Regions from separate parts of the Homo sapiens genome. Here region 2 is linked to region 1. Evidence: promoter capture Hi-C in 16 types of primary human blood cells and fetal thymus (Javierre and others, 2016). All regions are on one chromosome and are shown on one strand. Each heading gives the region's core, a stretch centred on a gene start or on the middle of the fragment in contact. The rest is flanking DNA. Distances are from core to core; before and after follow the strand shown. Region 1 holds the start of PPARA (peroxisome proliferator activated receptor alpha). Region 2 overlaps GTSE1 (G2 and S-phase expressed 1).

Region 1 (3,853 bases), core at 382-2,881:
CCCCACATAGCCTTTGTCCTTGTTCATGAGAATGTTCACTAGGTCTTTCAACACCTGGTTGACCTGGGTGGTGCATCTGGGTCACACACCTGTGTGGACCCTGGTCCTTGAGAGTCTGGGATATGGGTATGCCAGGTAATGTCTTTGAGCCCGGAGGTCCTCATGAGGATGTAGCCCCTGAGCTCTGCGTGGGCAGCCCAGGGTCAGCTTCCCTCACCAAACACAACAGGATGACAAGCTTGGATGTGGCTGCCTGCACACCCCACGAGATATGCAGGATATTACGTGTACAGGTCACCCTATAAACTCTGAAACAACATAAATGATAGCTATTGCTGGCTAACATGTGCAAGAGAAGGTGAGGTTGCCGTGTGCCAGTGGGAAGGATATGTGGGTGTCTGGAGGGTGGGGCAAAGTTCACCATAGGTGCCTGGCTAATCAACAAGGGTGAGTTTAAGAGAAGTTTGTGAAAGGGCCAGTTCCCGCCTGATCTCCAGTTCCCCTGCCTAATGAGATCTGGGTTTGCTTTCCGGAGTGGGTCCTCCTGGGCGCCCGCTGCCACAAATAGCACAGTGGCAGGCACAGCTGGCAGCGGAGGGCAGGCAGTGGAGCGGGCATAGCACACATTGCGTTCCCGAGGAGGGGAGCCCTGATGTGCCGGCACCCAGGGGCTTTGTGCATTCCGCTCCGGCAGCTCGAGCGTCACGGCCCGAACAAAGCGGCTTTGCAGGGCGCTCTCCTACTCCTCGCCATTGGCCACCGGGCCGCGACCTCTCCTTGCTCTGGCAGAGTCCCAGCGCCTTGCGTAGGCACAAAGTCAGCCCCTCACCCCCCAGCGCATGAAGTAGGGGCGGGCATGGCTCTTGGGCCGCTGGAGAGGGGTGGGGTTGTGGGGTCGGAGCTGGCGGCGCCTCCCCGAGCCCGTCCGCGTTGCCCTTCACCCTCCTCGTTCCCCCGCCCACCACACCGCCCTGGCACCTCCCGCCACCTGTTTCCTTGTCCTCCCAGCTCGCCTTCCCCTTCTCCTTATTTTGCATCCTGGGGTTCCAGGGACAAGGTCCCTCCCGGGCCGCCTCCCACCCTACGCACTTCTGAGCCTCAAGGGCACCCGGTCCCGGGTCCCGGGTCTAGACCGGCTCATCGCACAGAGTAGCAGAGCCGGGCTCATCGAGGAGGCAGGAGGGGCTCGCCAGCGTGGCACGGGCGCCCGGCGGGAACCTCCACCCGCCCCGCGGCCGCGCGTCCCCGCCTCGAATTCAGCCCCGCCCCGGTGCGCCGGGCTGGAGGGGCGCTGACGCTCAGCGGTGTCCCATCGGTGACCTTGGACGGTCCCTCCACCTCTCCGGCCTCAGTTTCCCTTGGCTGCAGCGGCCGCGGGGCGCTAGGTGGGAGCCGCTGAGCGCTCCCGGGGCCCCGCCCACCGCGAGCAGCCAATCGGGCGCCGCCCTCCGGGGGGTGTGTCCCGGGGCCGAGGCCCGGGGCCCGGAGGGCGCGCGGGGCGGGCGGGGCTTCCGGGTCGGGCCTCGGGACACTGGCTCGCGCGGACCGGGGCAGGGGGCGGGCCGAGGGGCGGTGCGTGTCGCGGGGGCGCGGCTGGCACGGACGCGCGGAGGCGGCGCCGGGCATGGGCCGTGGACGCGGCGGCCCCGCGGCGGGGGCAGCGGGCGGCGGGGGCGGAGGCGGCCGCTAGCGCCCTGCCCGGCGCCGCCTCCTTCGGCGTTCGCCCCACGGACCGGCAGGCGGCGGACCGCGGCCCAGGTGCCCGGGGGCGGGCGGGCGGGCGGGCGGGAACGCGCGCGGGGGTCCGCGGTCCGGGCTTCCCAGGTCCCGGGACCCGGAGGGCGGCGGACGGGGGAGGGGCAGGGGCTGGGCGGCGCATGCGCGGGGCCCGGGGTCTCGGGGTCTCCGGGTCCCGGGGACCCGGGGGCCCGGGGTGCGCGGCTGGGGACCTGAGGGCGAGGAGCGAGGACACACACCGAGGACTCTTGCGAGGGATCTCGGGGCCCAGCTCGGCCTCCCTCCTAGCGCTGGGGGCCTGCCCGGAACCCGAGTCCGCGGCTGTCCCTGGGGTTTGGCGCTGCGCGGAGGTCGGGTCTGGGGACCGCAGCGACTCTGGGTCTTCGGGTTGTCCCCTCGGAGGGAGGGCCCACGGGCGGGGACATCGGGACTTGCCCTTTCCTCGGCGCAGCGGAGCTGGGGCGTCGCCGACTCAGAAGGTGCTTTCCGAGACCTCCAGGGATCTCCGAGGCGAGGAAACCCGGGCCCCGGACAGACCGACCCTGGGTGGGTGCGCCCGGCTTCTGCCGTCGGACGGAGACGCGCGTGTTTGTTCCTCCAGCTGCGACCACCTTTGAGGAACGGTTCCCACTTTGTGCCCCAACGCGGCGGGGCGACCCCGGACAGGCTGCGCTGGGCCGGGTGGCTTCTCTGCGGAAGCCGCGCCACGTCGCTCCCGGTCGGGGCCGCTGAGGGTCGGGCGCCCAGGTCTTTCCGGAGTCCCGGGCTGCGCGGCCCGCGTGGTGCGGGTGAAGCTGGAGGGGCGCGGGGTGGTGCCAGTGGAAGTCAGGAGGGTCGGCCCTGCCCCCTCACGCACCCCAACCGGGCACAACTGCACGCCTGTGCTTTTCTGAAGTCTTTTTTAAAAGTTAAAAGAGAGGAAGTGTGCTCCAAGTGTCAGGATTCTTTCCAAGAAAAACCCACAGTTGTCCAATGGCCTGGGCTTCGTGGGACCTCCGGGGCTGCACGCCCACGTCAGCCTCAGCCGACCCCTGCCAGGAAACCAGGGAGGCCCCTCCTCTCCCAGCCTCCTTGGGATAAGGGTGCCTTGGGGAACTGGGTCAGGGCAAGGACACGGGATTTTCCTGGGAAGGACCCTGCGACACCCGTGTCGTTGCGGGGCAGGGTCAGCATGACTTTCCTCTTCCAAGGTGAAGAGTTGGGGGGCATCCAGAGAACAACCGTAATCACTTCCTCCTTCACCTTCTTACTGCCAGGCTGAAGCTCAGGGCCCTGTCTGCTCTGTGGACTCAACAGTTTGTGGCAAGACAAGCTCAGAACTGAGAAGCTGTCACCACAGGTAAATAGAAGGTTTAATTTACTGTTTCCAGATGGAAATATTTAAGTGTTTTCAGTGTTTACTTCTGTTGCACTACAGACCAGCAATCTGGGGGTTATTACTTTGTGATGCAAGGTTAGATACGTTTTCAGACTGAAAGTAAAATACATGTGCATGGATTCATTTTTTTTTTTTTTTTTTTTTTTTGAGACGGAGTCTCGCTCTGCCGCCCAGGCTGGAGTGCAGTGGCCTAATCTCAGATCACAGCAACCTCTGCCACTGGGGTTCAAGCGATTCTCTTGCCTCAGCCTCCCGAGTAGCTGGGATTACAGGCGCCTGCCACCATGCCCAGCTAATTTTTGTAGTTTTAGTAGAGGCGGGGTTTCACCATCTTGGCCAGGCTGATCTTGAACTCCTGACCTCATGATCCACCTGTTCCTCCCAAAGTGCTGGGATTACAGACGTGAGCCACCGTGCCTGGCCTAGGATTCACTTTGAAGTTCTGAGTTATTGTGTGACTTTTGCTAGGAACTTCATTGCTTCGTGGCAGGCATGTTTTGTATAATTTAAAACTTGATGACATTAACTTTGAGAAACGTGAGTGCTTACTAGACCCTTGGGATGTCCACACTGACTGGTACCGAGTAGTGTACTGTCTCTGAGCTGTTTTCATTTTGATTTGAATATTAAGCAGATGGCTTCTTGAGATAGACCCGTGCCAGAACATGCCAGGGATAGGCTGAAGAAACGGGCCAGATGATACAAATTTGTGTGGTCACCATCCATGAGAGACCAGGG
Region 2 (3,853 bases), core at 364-2,863, 170 kb after region 1:
TCAGGTGTACACTTTTGAATGTCTGGATTTTGTTGTCTTTCTCTGAGGAGTTGGGTTGGGCTTGGCAGGCAGTTAAGGTGCAGATCATCCTTCCGAGGCTTTTTATGCTTTGAAGTGGTGGGTCTAGCATAGCCTTTCCGCCTCCCGCCACCGGCGTCCTTCCCAAGGCCTCTGCTGCACACCCGTGTGTCCCGCAAGGCCCGCGAGACCCCTGCACTCCTGCTGCTGCAAGATGACACCTTCTCGGCCCTGTGAGCTCCGCTCGTTGCTCCCTGGTAAGACGGCGGTTTCTCGGCCCTGTGAGCTCCGCTCGTTGCTCCCTGGTAGTTGCTCTTCTCTTGACCTTGAGGACTCCTGCCCTGCACCTGTGCACTGCCTGGTGCTCAGCCAGAGACTCGAGATTCCCTTGGGTTCCTAGAGCTCGTTCTGTCGGAGTAGCCCCCTCCTCTCTAGTTTCTGGCCCTCAGATTGCAGCCACCTCAGCCTCCTGAGCTCCAGCCACTGCCTTCTCCAGTCAGTGAGGCCACTGGCCCCAGCAGGTGTCTGGCCATTAGTGGGTGGGTGTTTGTAAAGTTTTCATGAATTTCTTGAACAATTGTGTGCAATGCAGAAAGTTCTCAGAGCTGACTTAAGGTGAGAGGAGCGTCCTGGCCTCCTCTGTCAGGCAGATCTGCCCTCTGGGTGCTTGAGGATTTTAAGTTCTGGCAGTGCCGGCCAGCACAGGCAGCCTGCAACTCCCAGAAACTGCATTCTGAGTCCTGCTGTAGGAACAAGCTGTTCTGCTGAGTGTCTTCTCTGTGCTGGAATGCTTTGGGGGACAAGGGACATCATGATAAGACAGACCTACTCTCACAGAATTTCTGTTTAATAGGAAAAGATACGAAATGTTATCAGATGAGCAGGCCTGCAGATCCTAGCACAACAAAGGGACTAAGGGAAGATGGTGTCCTGGAGCTGGCATGTTTGGGGAGGAATTTGCATCGGGTGGTTCTTTGGCAAAGATGGTCAGGAGGTGACACGGGACTGAGATCTGAACCAGGAGACTGAGGCAGCCGGTAGGAAAGTGCAAGGGGGAGCACTCCAGGCAGAGGCAACGGCAGGAGTGCAGAGGTCCTGGGGCAGGAAGGCGTGGGACGTGCTCTGGGAGCAGCATGGGGGCCGGAGGGTGGGAGTGCAGCCGCTGCGGTCGGGATTCTGCGTAGACGTGCGACAGCTGGTCAGTACTCCTTGGTGTCAGGGACCCAGGCTTACTCCATCCTGTGCTGCCGTGATGAGCTTCTCATCCTCATGGTCTAGTGTGGCTGCACCGGCTCTGGCCCTCATACCTCCCGGCAGGAAGCCTTCTTCTAGGTGAAGAAGAGCAAATCCCCACCTTTCAAGGACCCTCACTGCAAGTTGTCCCTGTGACTCCGTTTGTGTCCCATTGAGTACGACGCTTCCCTGCACAGGATGCTAGGACACGTTGTCTTTATTCCGCACACAGCTGAAATTTCTTACTGAGAAGAGGAAAGTTGCTGTTGAACAAAAACTAGCAACCTCAGCCAGTCAGTGACCGAGGGGCAGGGTAAGAAGAGATGAAGATGGAGGGGCAGCCCGAGGCCGGCTCCCAGAGCGCCGCGTGACCAGAGCGGACCCTGGAGTACCGTCAGTGCAGGAGGACGTGCATAGGAGAGATCAGAGCAGAGCGACTTGACCTTCAGAAGGTCCCTCCACAGAGGGAAGAGCAGAGTCTCTGGGCCGAAGAGTGGTGGGGAGGGTAATGCGGACCTGGCCCTCACTGTGTTGGGGAGGAAGCTAGTGCTGGGGAAGGAGGCTGGAGCGCTGCGGTCTGCCTGACGTTCTGGTAGCTTAGGGCTCATGTGGCAGTGCAGAGAGGGACTCGAGTGTCCCTGAGGTTCTGGCGGAACCTGGGTGCTGCCACTCATGTGACAGGAGGGCTGGAAGAGGCAGCGGGCAGAGTCCACGGCCCCATTTTGGAAGTAGTGAGGGTGAGAGGCCACTTAGGCTGCAGCTGAGGGGTGGAGCAGGCTGAGAGCTCAGAGGAGAAGCCACAGCTGGAGACCTCAGTGTAGGTTTCAACAGCAGAGAGCTGAGTTTGTAGAGATGGGAGCTGTGAGCTGGGCACGGTGGCTAACTCCTGTAATCCTAGCACTTTGGGAGGCCGAGGTGAGCAGATCACCTGAGGTCAGGAGTTCGAGAGCAGCCTGGTCAACATGGTGAAACCCTGTCTCTACTAAAAATAGAAAAATTAGCCAGGCATGGTGGCGCATGCCTGTAATCCCAGCTACTTGGGAAGCTGAGGCAGGAGAATCACTTGAGCCAGGAGGCAGAGGTTGTAGTGAGCCGAGATGGTGTCACTGCACTCCAGCCTGGGCGACAGAACGAGACTGTCTCAAAAAAAAAAAAAAGAAAGAAAGAAAGAAAAGAAATGCGAGCTGTGATTGGGTGGGTTCTGCAGGGACACCCTACGGCCCAGGTCATGTGGAGGTGTGTTCAGTAGTGTTTGCTTCCCTTCTGCCTGAATGCCTGGAGCCAGGACATGCGTCTGCCATGTCTCTCCTGACCACGTTGGCACAAGTGTTGGCTGGTCTCCTGGCTGTCGGGCTGCTTGATGCCACAGGACTTCTGCTAATCCCAAATCCCTGTTGGCTTTGCCCTGTTTCCCAGAGCGTGTCCCTGCGGTCTCCTTACGCACCTCTCAGATGTGCATTTCACCTTCGGCAGGCGGTTCCTCCTCTCTCCACAATGCTGGGAACAGGACTGTCTCTTGCACGCCTTTGGTCATTCATCAGGGTCAAAACTGGTCCCACAAACTCAGCACTGGCCGGAAGAGAGGCCCCAGGGGAGCAGCCACGCTGTTGGGAACACACAGCTCTGGGAGGCACGTGGTGGTGTGCACTTTTTGGCTGAGAGCACTGGTGGTGTTGCTCATTGGCTGTGACACCAGCTGTCACCGTGGAGGAGAGGTGAGGGCTGAGGGCACTCACAGCGTGGGACCACATGAACGGTGCCCTGTAGTGGAGGCTTTCATATGTGCACTTTCTCAAAATACTCGAGGCAAGCAGCATTCTTTGTAAAACAGTCCAGTTACAAATGTTGCTATTTACTATGAGTCCATGCTGCCGGGTCACCCAGAGGATTGAGACTTGGAATTCTGGCTGTGGGCTTTGCCTCCCCGGTACTGGGAGCTGCAGTGGAGACGCGCCGTCCAGGTTTAGGGAAGAGCTGATGTGGGCCTGGGAGGCGTGCGTGCTCAGGCAGCCCTAGGGCAGTCGTGAGGGTGTCAGGAGATGGCTTGTTCGTGTTCTGTTTCATAAGAATGACCTTCCCGTGCCACCATGGAAGCTGCTGAAGAGTGCGCTCCACCCAGCTGAGGGAGAGGACAACCGAGAGGAAGGGGTCTCGGGAGAGAGGGAGCCAACACGGGAGGCGGCAAGGGAGAGGGAGGCGGCGAGGGAGAGAGAGGTGGGCTTGCCTCCACACCCGCCAGGAGTGACCAACTTGGGTCTCACAGAGACCTCTGTGAATGGTGCGGGGTCAGTGACCCAAGAATGTTCCCAAAAGACAGGGATTATGGGATGACTTAGTCACAGACCACCCCACTCCATACAAGAAAACAAACACCAGCCTGGGCGACACAGTGAGACCCCGATTCTACAAAAACATTTAGCTGGGCATGGTGCTGGGCACCTGTAGTCCCAGCTACTTGGGAGACTGAGGCAGGAAGATTACTTGAACCCAGGAGTTCAAGGCTGCAGTGAGCAGTGATCAAGCCACTGCACTCCAGCCTGGGTGACAGAGCAAGACCTTGTTTCTTGTAAGAAAGAAAAGAAACAAACAAACTGAAAACGGA

The links. Contacts are between HindIII fragments. The CHiCAGO score rates a contact against its expected background, and 5 or more counts as called.
Region 2: a fragment that was not itself captured here is called in contact with the fragment with the promoter of PPARA in region 1 in 7 of 17 cell types (endothelial precursors, erythroblasts, M1 macrophages and 4 more); the score reaches 8.4 in endothelial precursors.

What each region holds. Positions count from the first base shown.
Region 1 is chr22:46,148,895-46,152,747 of GRCh38, forward strand. PPARA (peroxisome proliferator activated receptor alpha) reads left to right here and starts at 1,632. Exons shown (of 9, transcript NM_005036.6): 1 at 1,632-1,758; 2 at 2,994-3,076. RefSeq lists silencers at 1,093-1,702, 1,853-1,972 and an enhancer at 2,183-2,372. The HindIII fragment of the contact is 11,056 bases long and covers 237-3,853 here.
Region 2 is chr22:46,317,589-46,321,441 of GRCh38, forward strand. The region is part of intron 7 of GTSE1 (G2 and S-phase expressed 1); the gene reads left to right. Among named protein-coding and RNA genes, the nearest start is that of TRMU, 16 kb to the right of the region's middle. The HindIII fragment of the contact is 4,924 bases long and covers 1-3,853 here.